Regions from separate parts of the Homo sapiens genome. Here all the other regions are linked to region 3. Evidence: promoter capture Hi-C in 16 types of primary human blood cells and fetal thymus (Javierre and others, 2016). All regions are on one chromosome and are shown on one strand. The core of a region is centred on a gene start or on the middle of the fragment in contact, and the rest is flanking DNA. Distances in the headings are between cores, read along the strand shown.

The links. Contacts are between HindIII fragments. The CHiCAGO score rates a contact against its expected background, and 5 or more counts as called.
Region 1: a contact is called between a fragment that was not itself captured here and the fragment with the promoter of GLI3 in region 3, in 1 of 17 cell types (M2 macrophages). The highest score is 5.5, in M2 macrophages.
Region 2: a fragment that was not itself captured here is called in contact with the fragment with the promoter of GLI3 in region 3 in 1 of 17 cell types (endothelial precursors); the score reaches 5.5 in endothelial precursors.

Annotation. Positions count from the first base shown.
Region 1 is chr7:42,827,365-42,831,827 of GRCh38, reverse strand. No RefSeq gene overlaps it. Among named protein-coding and RNA genes, the nearest start is that of C7orf25, 82 kb to the left of the region's middle. The HindIII fragment of the contact is 2,690 bases long and covers 1,821-4,463 here.
Region 2 is chr7:42,906,002-42,910,444 of GRCh38, reverse strand. It overlaps C7orf25 (chromosome 7 open reading frame 25), which reads left to right. Exons shown (of 2, transcript NM_001099858.2): 2 at 1-1,172. The coding sequence ends at 810. Among named protein-coding and RNA genes, the nearest start is that of C7orf25, 3.8 kb to the left of the region's middle. The HindIII fragment of the contact is 1,035 bases long and covers 1,058-2,092 here.
Region 3 is chr7:42,235,465-42,239,785 of GRCh38, reverse strand. GLI3 (GLI family zinc finger 3) reads left to right here and starts at 2,577. Exons shown (of 15, transcript NM_000168.6): 1 at 2,577-2,815. RefSeq lists an enhancer at 1,852-2,833. The HindIII fragment of the contact is 5,518 bases long and covers 1-4,321 here.

The sequences.
Region 1 (4,463 bases), core at 1,916-4,415, 590 kb before region 3:
TTGGAACTGCCTTCAAATTTGCAGCACAGATTCACACTCTTTTTAAAACTTTAGAAGGAACTTTCAGGTAGCCTGGCTTTGTGCATCAAGTAGCATGTATAATTCCACATCTGAGGCATCTATTCAATGCTTCTCGTGAGTGCCTTCCATGCATTAGTTTGCCACTGAGGGAGAGTGCCTGCAACTCTCCTGCACATTGCTTTCAGGTTAATCTTCCCTCTCCACGGTGGAGATAGTGATCCTGACTCAGGGCTCCACGATGTCCGAGGAATTTGGAGGAAAACAATCTGTTTTGTGGTTGAACAGGAGGCTTCTATTACCTGAACTGCTGTTTCAGCAGAGGTAAAAATGCACCCCCCCACACACACAGTCACACACACAACATACACCATACATGCAGTCATACATACTACATACATAACACACACACACATATATGTATCACACACACCACACATCACACACACTCATACTCACCACCCACACTGAATCTTGTTTCACTGCCCTGGCCTCAGCATAAAACTAGAGTGTGAGACTGGACTCTACATGAACTTTCTTGTTCTTTGTTCCTTCATTTATAAAATGAGGCCACTACAACCATGTGGTAGAATAAACAATGACCTCAGCAATATAATATAACTCAGTGCTAAAGCCAAAACCAGGATCAGAGAATAACAGCATCTCAAACCTGGAGAGACCAGGGTAGCAGAGCACTTGATCCAAGCCCCCATCTGAGGAGGCAGAAATCTTCCAGGACGGGAGGGTGTTTTCATATGGCAGGAGTCCCAGGACTTACGGCTATAGCCTCTTGTCCAATGTATTGGGTTTCTGCAGCCTTGTGTGTGTGACTTTGAAGAGCCACATGTTTTAACTCCAGGGAAATGAAAAGTGAGCTATCTGATGTAGCTTATACATGAACCCACATCCTTCCATGAAACAATACCATTCCAAATAGAAGCAGCAATAGTCAGCCTCATTCTGATTCTATTTCTTCTATAGAATTCGTGTTTTGTGTGATCATTCATTCAGCAAATCTTTTTTGAGCTCTTCTTGTGTGTCAATTATTGTGTTGCCTAGTGCGGCTGTAGCCACACTGCAAGCACTGCCTCTGACAGCTTATGAAGAGTGCTACGCTGAATGCAGCTAGTTTGGCCATCTTCTATGTTCACCTCCTTCCATTTCCTGGCTCTAGTGTTCTGAATCTACACACTGAACTTTGATGCCTACAGAGTCACTGTTTCACTTGTTTTTGGTGGTACCAGACATGCAATTTACCAAATAGTCCCAGCTTCCTGCCTTGCAGGCCAGTGGGAAGTTTGCATTTCCTGGCCCATTGTGGTGGAGTAGAACCACGTTACTAGTTCTGGCCAGGACCTGTGAGTGTGATGTGTTTCACTTCTAGGTCGGAGCATCTCTACCTAGCTCCGTATCCCTCAGACAAGGAGCTCCAGAGAAGGGCTGGTGCTGCTCCCCAGCCTGGCTCCCTAAGGGACTGTAGGAACACAGCCTTTTGCTGACTCCCAAAAGCCACATGCCAGGTATAAGAAATCAACCATTGGGTTGTTTTTTTTTGTGTTTGTTTGTTTTCTTTTTTTCTTTTCTTTTTTTTTGTTTTTACAAGGAGCCTATCCCAACTGATTACCTTCATATAGAACATAGCAATTGGGTTCCTGCTTTATTTGGGCTAATCACTAGCATATATTCATTTATTGATTGATTCATTCATTTAACAAATAGGCCTCCAGTTCCTCCTGTGTGTCAGGAACAATTCCGGGGATTCAGCTGTGAACACGAGTCAACGATCTTCCCCATGTCAAGCTTATCTTCCAGTGGAGAAGAAGAGGAGTGATCACACTTAATAGGAAAAACAAGCAGGAAATAAAAGCAAAAACACAAATCCAGGTGGGCTTTGTCATTGCTGAGACTACTCCTGATAAATCCTGACATTTCAGGGTACTGTGCAGGAGACTTACAGACACCAGAAACCCGAAGGCAGCATTCACCTGGATAATGCTAGAAGGAAACATAAAAGGTCAGAGAAGGCCCCGACCATATGTACATCTTACGGACCACTGATGATGCTTCAAGATTGCTGGTCAGGTGAAGGAAACACCATGACCACCCCAAATCAATCACATAGAATTCCATGACTGAGGAAATTCTCTCCATTCTTTGCCTCCTCCAACACCTGCTCTCACTCAGCTCAATCTAGCCTCTTCTTTTGCCACATGAATGGGGTCAGGAGTTAGCAGGAAATAGAACGATGGGAGTAGGAGAGAATGTCTGTGAGAAAAATATAATGGTCCTCTTCCCCTTAATACTCCAGGCACAAAGGGGAGACTCAAGCTCATGGACAGTGAGAATAATTTAGCAGCATCTTCAAGCTGAATCCCAGTACTCTGCTTTCTAGTTTATGTGGTCTTGGAGGTGACTCGATTTATTCCTTTAAAATGAGAATAATACCTGTCTTACAGCATCACTGTGAAGGGGAAGGCAAGCTGAAGAGTACCACATAAGAAGGACTCACTGGCAGCCATTATTTTATGAAGGTAGAATTTTTTTTCCAAGTGCGTTAGCATCTGTTGTCCATTTGCTTTTTTAAAAATGATTGTAGAGATGGGGTCTCACTATATTGCCCAGGCTGGTCTCAAACTCCTGGGCTCAAGCTATTCTCCAGCCTCGGTCTCCTGAAGTGTTGAGATTACAGGCATGAGCCACCATGTCCGGGAGTTGTCTACCTTCCTACAACACTCCTGAAGAGGATGGCTAGAGAGGAACTCATGTTGTTGTAATCCCCCACAATGAGAAAGCTGCACACTGGTATACAAAATATTACCTCTTTGTTGTTAGGCCACTATGGTTACTTCTTGAGAAATCTGCTTTCTACTGAACATCAATTTATATTTCAAATAAATGAACATCTATAAAAATAGACGTCTGATTGAATATAAACGGGTGAGTTTTTAAATACCTGGATCATGGGGATTCTAAATGCTAAATTCTCGGTGTATTCGGAACTCATGAATTAAGAAATCCTTCCAGTGGTGCTTATTAGTTGGTATTTTAGGAAAGTAAACATTGAGTAGAAGTATTTAGAAATATTCCATCTGTACACCGGGGCCTGTTGTGGGGTGGGGGGAGCGGGGAGGGGGGAGGGGTAGCATTAGGCGATATACCTAATGTAAATGACGAGTTAATGGGTGCAGCACACCAACATGGAACATGTATACATATGTAACAAACCTGCACGTTGTGCACATGTACCCTAGAACTTAAAGTATAAAAAAAAAAAAAAGAAATATTCCATCTGTGTTTGTGAACTCCTAAGGACTGACCTAAGCCTGGAAATTGTGAACTTTTGAATGTTCATCTGTGCTGGCTTCTGCGAGGTCTGTGAACTTCCCTTACTCAATATTCCAGACTAGCTCTTAACTTATTCTGCATGGGAGATACTCCGGAATTCAAATCCTTAAGCAAGCATCCATTTGATTAGAGTTTATGGTAGTTTTATGCGTGAAAAAATCCCTGACCATTTGCTCTTTCTTTTAGGGAGCTGGTTAAAGAATGATGGCAACCTTGGAATATTATGCTATAGAAGACCTACTGCTTTCTAGAAAATGCTTTCCTGTTGTACATATGCCATAACCCCATATGTGGGTGTTGGCACTTGGTGTTTTAGATGATGAATAATAAAACATACTACATCAAGTCAATGCTCACTTCCGTCACTCTAATGGAGTGTTGGGCATTATTGTGATAATATCCTTAAAATAACTGAGTAAAAAACAAAAAAATCTTCCAACCACAGCCAGTTAACTTCCCTATATAAAAAATGTAGGTTCTTTTTTTATTAGGCTACAAAACTATTTCAAGCAAATGGAAACCAAATGTGTACCAAAAAAGAGCCCATGTGTATTTTCAAACTGTTGTACCTCAATGGTTCATGCCTTTGGGCTCTAGAGCAAAGAGCAGCCAAGTCTCCCTCCTCTCTTTGTGCCTTTAGGAGGGAATAAAATACATACCTGTTGAGAACATGTTTGCATGATTGTATTAAGCAAGTGACATATTAAAATAGTCCCAAATGTTTTGAATAGAACCATTTTAATATTAGCTTAAAAACTACCAAAATAGTAAATACATGATCGTTAAGCTCCAAATACTCTGCTTATTGGAAGAGAGCATTTAAAAAAAAAATAGAGAGGTTAATCGTATTTTTAAGAGTCCTGAGATGTGGACTTCTCTGATTTCTTGATGTCTGATGAGCAAAGACCTGTGAGTCTCCTAATCACTAATGCCAATGGAATTTAATGCTCTAAAATTAAAATTTCCCTTTTAAGTCAATAGGTACTCCTCTTATACCAAGAAGTTCTGAGGGGTAAGAAATGTATGAGAATATGACCAGGACAGACAATAATCAAGGAAAAGGAATAGATCCCACATAGGCACACACACATCAAAGCCCA
Region 2 (4,443 bases), core at 326-2,825, 670 kb before region 3:
AGTCACCAGCAGCCAGTGCAGTATAGCAACCCTCACATCATCTTTGCATTTTACAACAGTGTCTCCAGCCCCATGGCAGAGAAGCTGAAAGAAATGGGCATATCTGTGAGAGGAGACATAGTAGCAGTCAACGCTCTGTTAGATCACCCTGAAGAGCTTCAACCAAGTGAGAGTGAATCAGATGATGAGGGCCCTGAACTTTTGCAGGTGACCAGAGTTGACCGAGAAAATATACTAGCAAGTGTTGCGTTTCCAACAGAAATTAAGGTCGATGTGTGCAAAAGAGTAAATCTGGACATTACTACTTTAATCACATATGTATCTGCCCTCAGCTATGGAGGCTGCCACTTTATTTTCAAAGAGAAAGTGCTCACAGAACAAGCAGAGCAAGAGAGGAAAGAGCAGGTTCTACCTCAGCTGGAGGCCTTTATGAAGGACAAGGAGTTGTTTGCTTGTGAATCTGCTGTCAAGGACTTTCAGTCTATTTTAGATACCTTAGGAGGACCTGGGGAGAGAGAGAGGGCCACTGTGTTAATTAAGCGAATTAATGTGGTACCAGACCAGCCTTCTGAGCGTGCCTTGAGACTAGTGGCCAGTTCAAAAATTAATAGCCGCTCATTAACAATTTTTGGGACGGGAGACACCCTAAAAGCCATCACAATGACTGCTAATAGTGGTTTTGTCAGAGCTGCAAACAACCAGGGTGTTAAATTTAGTGTGTTTATCCATCAGCCCAGAGCACTTACTGAGAGTAAAGAGGCTCTAGCCACCCCCTTACCAAAAGACTACACAACTGACAGTGAACACTAAAGATACCCTTTAAATATTTTTGTGGAAGTAAGTTATTTATACCAAAGGCTGGGTCTTCCCATCTAAACTGGTGGGAAAAAAGGTCTATAGTAAAAGTAAAACTGAGAACTCTTAAACCAGTAGAGTTTCTTTGTCTCTCATCTAAAGTATATAACCTCCCAAAGTAGAAAAAGCACAAGAGAGAAGCTTATCTATCAAACTGTCTGCATTAGTGCAATTAAGAACCGAAATACGTCTATATAAAGCTTTCAGCTGTATTGTAATACTTTGATTCGATAGGGCTACAACTCCCCTACTGCTAACCACATTTCATGGAATATGGCTACATTGCATCTTGCATTAAATATCTGGAGAAAATTCAAGCCTGTTTTTCATTGTATTGCTTTATATGGTTTAGGCTGGGAGGTAGTCGTTGGTAATCAATTTTAGATTCTAAGGTTAACCATTAATGAAAAACTTATTTGCTGTATGTCAGGTGCAGTCTGATAGGTGTTTTTACAAAAAGTACATAATACAGAAGAAATGAGAAAGTGAATTATGGTTATTTGAGTGCCATGAACCCATTGGTAGACCTTTGTGAAAAGAAAGCCAACAATCTTACTACTATAAGATAAAACCAGGACACTTAAGGTAAAATACTAATTTGAATGAATTGAAAAAGGATTATGTAAAAGATTTTAAAAATTCAATACAGAAAGCCCCCATATTATAAGTATTTGAACAATAAATACTATTTTCATGTTTCATTTGCAAGTGGCAAGTGACAACTGCATTACCTTACTTTCATGAGATGGTGACAGAATATTCCATGCCAATTCCATGACACAAGTTGTAGTTAAAAATACACTTCTATGGCTACATTGCGCTAGATACTTTATCAGTTTTCAATAAAGCAAAACTAGCAAAGTCGGTATGTATTCACCACATTTAAAAATTTGGAATTTGAGTCCTGGAGCTTAAATATTAACTCATGCTAAGTGTAGGAGCTGGTATTAAAACTTGATGTTTCTAGCCACAGTCTGATCTCTTTCTACCATGCCAAATGTCGTATTTGTTGAGAAGAGAATCTCAATTTACAGCCACAGTGTTTGTTGGGGTGGAATTTGGTTATTGGCATTCATGAACACCCTGAAATGAATGCAAAATTAAGTGTATGGGGGTGGTTCTCTGGGGAGAGATTGCTTTACTAAGTCAGAATACATTTTCTAGTAGAAAGGCTGTGATTTGCTTCCAGTTTAGTGTAGAGTGGTATATGTCTAGTGTTAGAAATGGAATTTAAGCTTTTTGAGCATCTATTAAGGTCATGTAGTACTTGATACTATTAAGTACCAAGCATTATAATAGTTTGGTGTGAAAAGATGAATGTTTGCTCTAAGGAATTCTTAAGTCTAAAGTGGAAGTAAACAACTGAAGTGCAATTAAATGTACTAAATTCTCTAGGATATGTTGAAAATACTATGGGGACAGAGTAAAGGAGTACTTGTTATGGGGCCAGGAAGTCAGAGAGGAAGTGTTGTTTGAGGGTTTGGGGTGTGAAATTTCACAAGATGTGTGAGAAAGGGTACTCAAAAGTACATGGAGGAATGGGATTGGAAAAGTACCAGAACTGTGACTATGAGGACCTGTTCAGGGACCAGGCTCAAGTGGACAGTTTATAAAACAAGATGGAGCTAGAAAAAAAAGTCAAAGTTCTCTAAAGAGTTTGGCATTAGAGAGCCATTGGTGATTTTTAAGAAAGTGTGGCTTATGATCAGGTCTCTTAAGGAAACCACAAAAATCTGTAGTGTGGATAAAAATTGAAAGAAAGTTTGGACTATAATGACCTTAGCTAGAGCAGGAATGATGGACTGTAGAGTCATGGATACATGTTGGATTTGTTTGAGGCAGAATTGACATATTAATGTACTCATTCGTTTAATAAGCATTGAGTGACAGCCATGTGTCAGACACAGTACAAAGGGCATGGCATATAAAAGACTTGTTTTAAAGGAGCAGAAAGAAGGTAGATTTCTATCCCTGCTCCCTATGAATCAATCAATACCTAAGAACTTGGGATCTTTGCCAACTAGAAAGTGGACAGGCCACAGCACTCTTTAGGAAACTGCTTTGTGAAGTGACCACAGCTGTGCCCTGCCAAAGACCATGATGTTTTTTCAAGCATTCCAGTGATTGCAACTCCTAACAATGTAATAAATAATGCAAGCAGTACATATGCTCAAGTAGTAGGGCACTGGATCCTGGAATGTAAGAAATAGCACCTTCCCTAGAGACCACACACATGATCTACACTGTCAAGGTCTATTCCAGCTGGCCAAAACATTCCTTTCATAAAGGTAAAATATTAGACAATAAAGGCCGGATGTGGTGGTTCACACCTGTAATCCCAAAACTTTGGGAGGCTGAGGGGCAGATCACCTGAGGTCAGGAGTTCAATACCAGCCTGGCTGGCATGGTGAAACCCTGTCTGTACTAAAAATACAAAAATTAGCCAGGCATGTTGGTGGGTATCTGTAACCCCAGCTACTCAGGAGGCCGAGGCAGGAGAATCACTTGAACCTGGGAGGTGGAGGTTGCAGTGAGCCGAGATCACGTCATTGCACTTCAGCCTGGGTAACAAGAGCGAGGCTACATCTCAAAAAAAAAAAGAGACAATAAAAACAATGAGGGAAGTTATAAAAGGAATGTTCAATTAAATATCAGTTAACTGGTAAGTCAAAGGAATCACAGAGCTATAGCTATAAAGCAAACAAATGTCCAAATAGTTCTAAAGTGTGAAGATACGTAATAAACTGTCGTTATGCCTGGGAATTGGAAGTGGTTGAGGAAAGTAAAAGCATGCTAAAAATCCTCATCTTACTTAGAGTCAACAGACACTTTGAAATTTTGCTATTGAAAAATAGAGCTATTTAGTTTTGAGTGTCAAACAGGAAATATAACTGATAGTATAAATTAAACCAAGCTGAATAGCTGAATAAATTCCAAACAAAAGGTGAGGATGGAGAATAAATGTAGTCCATATAGAAAAAGACAGGTCAGGCTGGGCGCTGTGGCTTACACCTGTAATCCCAGCACTTTGGGAGGCTGAGGCAGGGTGGATCCCTTGAGCCCAGGACTTCAAGACCAGCCTGGGCAACATGGCAAAACCCCGCTCTACAAAAAATACAAAAATTAGCCAGGCATGGTAGTGCACTCCTGCAGTCCCAGGTACCAGGGAGGCTGAGGCAGGAGGCTCACCTGAGCCTGGGAGGTCAAGGCTGCAGTGAGTTTTGGTTGTACCACTGTACTCCAGCCTGGGCAACAGAGTGAGACCCTGTCTCAAAAAGAAAAAGATAAAAGAATTGTGAATGAGGCATAAAAAGCAGAAAGCATAAAATAAGAGTGCTAGCTGCAAGCACAGGAAGGATATAAAACAGCTTTGGAGGGAGATATATAGATAATTGTGATATACTGGGAAATCTCATTGGAACAGATGACTGTTTCAGGAAATGTAAATTAGAATTGAAAAATAGCCTAAATAAGCAATAACCATTTAAAAAATTGTTAAAGAAGTTAAGTAATTTCTCCAAAATATGTGCAGATGCAGTTAACTTTATTAGACAAGTTTTTTCCTACTTTTAAATACCGAATAATCCC
Region 3 (4,321 bases), core at 1,328-3,827:
TAAGAGACACAGCATTATTCTTCCTCTTTTTTGTTTAGCTATTGTGACGGGCATAGGGGGAAAGATTAGCTGCTTTTGCTTTGTTCTTGTCTTTTAAGAACTGAAAAATCAAGATCTTCATGATTCAAAATGTGCTATAAGACTGAAGTAAGAGTCGAAATATCTAGTTTATTCTATTATTTGATGATTTATTGGCTGTCTTTCTTTGTATTTATTTTTTGCCATTGGGTGAACAGAGTAGGCTATCAGGATGTACTATTTGTATTCATGTGATTGAGGCAGAAGCAGTACATGAATACTAAAAACAATTGTAACTGATGCTGGGAGTATATAAAGGAAAGAGTGGCTTGCAATTCTCTTCAATTGTAAAAGCATAATTCTTACACACTTGTAGCCCTCTATACTTTTCCATGTATTTCTCATTGGAAACCCTCAGCCATCCTGGGAGGTACGCGACCTGGCACTCCTAACACTATCCCCTAGATGGGCTCAGAGCCTATGGAGGCTCAGAGAATCCTCCCAGGCCTGAGGCCAGTTAGTGAGCGCGGAGATGGGGCTGCCACAGGGCTTCTGAGTCTCGTGCTCTCTGCGATGAGTCAGTGGTGTTTTGTTTTTTCCTGAGCCGTGAGGTCGAGGGAAATCTTAAAACAAATGGCTAACTAGGGCCTTTAGCCCCACCTTACCTCCACCACTTCCACCATAAAACCTTAAGTCTGTCTCTGCACTTGTCATGTCATTGTGACAAGGAAGGAGTCCCAAGAAACAAACAATGAATACCACCCTCAATTTCGTTAAAAGATTCTTCAGTTAAGCATTTGAATCTCAAAATGCTCTTCAAATTCTAATAGCTCATCATTCATCCACCCACACTCTTCCTTCAGTCAAGACACTTGGCGGCAACGCCACACAAGCAACCCGGAGCTCCGGGGCACTTCTGGCTGGGTGGACCCGGCTTAACCAGAAAGAGGGGATGTTGGAATGTCACAGGGGCTTTCTTTTCTTTCTTTTTCTTCCTGTGTTTCCCCCCGAGAACTCCTTTTTTAAGTTACATGTCCAGGTTGGATATATTAAAATGACGCAGATGAACAAGGACTGGATGGTCGAGGAAGGAGGCCAAATAACTTTTACTAGCATGGGCCTCTGAAAATGAAGCAGGGACAGAGACACTTTGTAGCTCAAGGAAAAGCGGCACGTTAGAGACCAGGCTCCAAGCCTGGGGTCTTTGTTTTTGTGTCTTTTATAAAGTGGCCCATAGGGACAGCAGGCTGTGTGGTGGGAGCTCCTCCTCGCTTCGCGGATTTGGCCCCGAGGGCAGACGAGTCCGGTGGAGAGAAAAACCCTGAACTTCCAAAGGCATCATCCCGCGAGAGGGAGTTTCGGGGATGGCTTTGGGAAAATGTAAAACAAGGAGATGGGGAGCCAAGGATGGGGGGCGGTGGTAATCAGAGAAGCCTTAAAAGAATAAAGGGGAGTCCAGCCCTTGAGCAAGAGTGAGAAAGAGAGGCTGGGTGGGAGAAGATGGGAGCAGACAGGACGCAGCACGAGTGCCAGGGCGCGCATTTGGGGGGTGTCCTGGCGGTGTGGAGAGAGAAGAGAGAGGGCGCGGGTGACATCACGCCCGGGCCCCCTTCCCCTCGCCGGGTGGGTGGGGCTTCGGCGCGCCGGGAGGGCGCGGGGTCAAGTAGGGGGAAGAGGAGGAGCAGGCATGAATGTGTCTGTGTGAAGACCGGGGAGGGGCGGAGGAGGAGGAGGAGGAGGAGAAGGAGGAGGAGGAGGAGGAGGCGGCGGCGGCGGCGGCGGCGGCGGCGGAGGGCGGGGAGGGAGCGCGCGCGTGGCTCGCGGCGCCCGGGCTCCCCCCCAGCCCCCGACCCCGGCCCGCGACGCGCCGCCTCCCAGCCGCCGCCGCCCGCCTCGCAGCTGGGACCCACTCCGGGCTTGGGGACCCGGCGGGCGGGAGAAGCGGGGGCTCCCGGCGCGGCCTGGAAGGAGCGAGAAAGCAAAAGTAAGGCGAGCAGCACTCCAAGTTTTCCCAACTTCGCCCCCTGCGGCGGCAGGCGTCCTGCTGCTCAGCGCGTCCCCTCCGAGCCCGAGAGTGGCTGAAAGAAAAGGGACTGGGCGGGGGCCGGGGCGGAGGAAGAGAGAGTGCGAGGGAGCGAGGAGAGTCCGGCAACATCTGTTAAAACTTGGGGGAGGAGGAGCGCGGGGAGGAGGAGGAAGAGGAGGAGAGAAGGGAAGGAGGGAGCGCGCGGGAGGGGAGCGCGGAGCCGAGGGACAACTTTTCCACCCCGTGAGTAGTGCAGGCGGTGCCAGGTCGGGGCGGGGGGCTTCTCCACCCAGCACGGGGCACCAGGCCGGGATGGGACCTTTTTCCAGAAAGTCGATTGGATGCCAGGAGAGGCGTACGGCTGGGGGTTTCTTTCTTTCTCTTTCCCCTCCCTCCCGCGGTTGAACCAAATCAGAACTGTCACTCAGGGCTTGTGAGTCAGAAGGGATCGGATTACACGATCCCCGAAACTGATGCCGGAGCTGCACGAGCGGGAGGGAGCGGGCAGGGGCAGCGCCACCGGCGCGCTCGCACACTCGCACTCGCGCACACCCGCCGCTCCCACTCACCCGCGCCGCTCTCCCGCCTTCCCCGCGCGCCCCGCGGCCGCCCGCGCCGCACCATGCCCGCGGCGGGCGCACCCCGCGCCCAGCCCGGCCGCTCGCGGTAGCCGTAGCCGCCCGCGGCCGCGCGGAGCGGGGAGCCGCCAGCCTGCGCCCCGTCCGCGGGTCTATGGGAAGTTCGGGGACTTGACAGCCGCTGCCGCCGCAGGTACGTCCCGCTCGAAGTTCTTTGTTTCGCGGACCCCGCAGCCCGCTCCTGCGGCCGCGCCCGCGCCTCCGGGGCCAGAGGTGGTCCCCAGCGTGGGGACGGGATGGAGTGAAAATGGCTGTCAAAAGGCGCCCAGATTTAGAGAGCCGCCGGTGAGGCGTCCGAGCAAGGCTTGCATTCGCTCCCTCCTCCTGGAAGGTCCTTTCCGAAGAGTCCGACCCGCGGACCGGCCGGAGACGGATTGGAGAATTTCACCTCCCGGAGGGGGGACGAAGTTTGCCGCAGTGGTGGCGGCGCCCCTCGCCTCCGCCCCCATCCAAAGGGTTCAGAAGAACTCCGCGAGCCCCGCACGCGCCTGGCTCCTTCCTTTGCGCGGTGGCGCTCTACGGCTCGGGCTTCGGGCGCGCACGGCGCTCGGGATGGGCGGAAGGAGGCGGGAGGCATGGTGGGTGCGCGCGGGGACCTCCGCCGCGGGGGCCGCCGCCGCTGGGGCTTCTCCAGCCCGGGCTATGCTTCGGAGGGCGGGGGTGTGGTGTGAGCGGATGGAGAGAGGCGCGCCTTCGTCGTCATAGAGGAAAAGTGAAAGTTGTACCATCTGTATATGATTTGGGATTCTCTTATTTCTTTTCCTTTCCAGGGGCAGCGCGCACAGACACACAAAGTAACCGTGGTCCATGCAATAATCATTTAAGGTGCCGCGTTTACACAGAGCAGCAGGGGACAGTTACTTTCTTGAGTAGCAGCGGGAAAACGGGCGGGAGAAGGCAGAGAGGGTGTAAATATTGATCCCAAACTTGCAGAGTTTGTGAAGCGACTTTTAAGCAGATTGTCCGAAGCGGACGCTCCACCCCGCACCCGGCCTTTTATCCTTTCCTGAACTTTGTGCTCCTGTCCCCCATTGCACCTCCTTCTGTAAGATGCCGTCCCCCGAGAGGCGCTGCACCCCAGGCTTCCCTGCCTGACCCCGCGTGGAAAGAGGATTAAGGAGGCTCCCTCCGCCGCTGGTCATCCTGCCCCAACTTCTCATCTCCCCAGTGCAGACTGCCGGGTAGATTCTGGCCTTGGGTACAGTGCTCATGGCCCTCTGCCAGTTTATATGTACATATATTTATGTAAAACATTTTCTCCCAGCTCTTTGCCAGCTGTTCCACATTTTCCAGCTGCCACTTCAGTTTGAAATGATGGACTGTCTGCGTCTCCAAGTCAAAGAACCCTTTAGTCAAAGGTATGGAGGGCCGGCCGCTGTGCAAATACATGGCAGTGCCATTAGCCGGGCTGGTATTATTAGTTCTAAAAAATACCTCCTGCTCCCCTTTTCCTCTCCTCCCTCTTCTCTCCAGTTAGGCTTTCCAGAGCACAGTATATACACTTTGCTGAAAATTCGAGTAATTAGGCCTTTCCCTCTTAAATGTGATTTTTGTACAGAATTTGGATGAGGCCGTTTTTTTAGATCCCTGAAATATGTGTCTGGTGGAAATAAATTAACTTTTAAAAATAAAAGAGTTT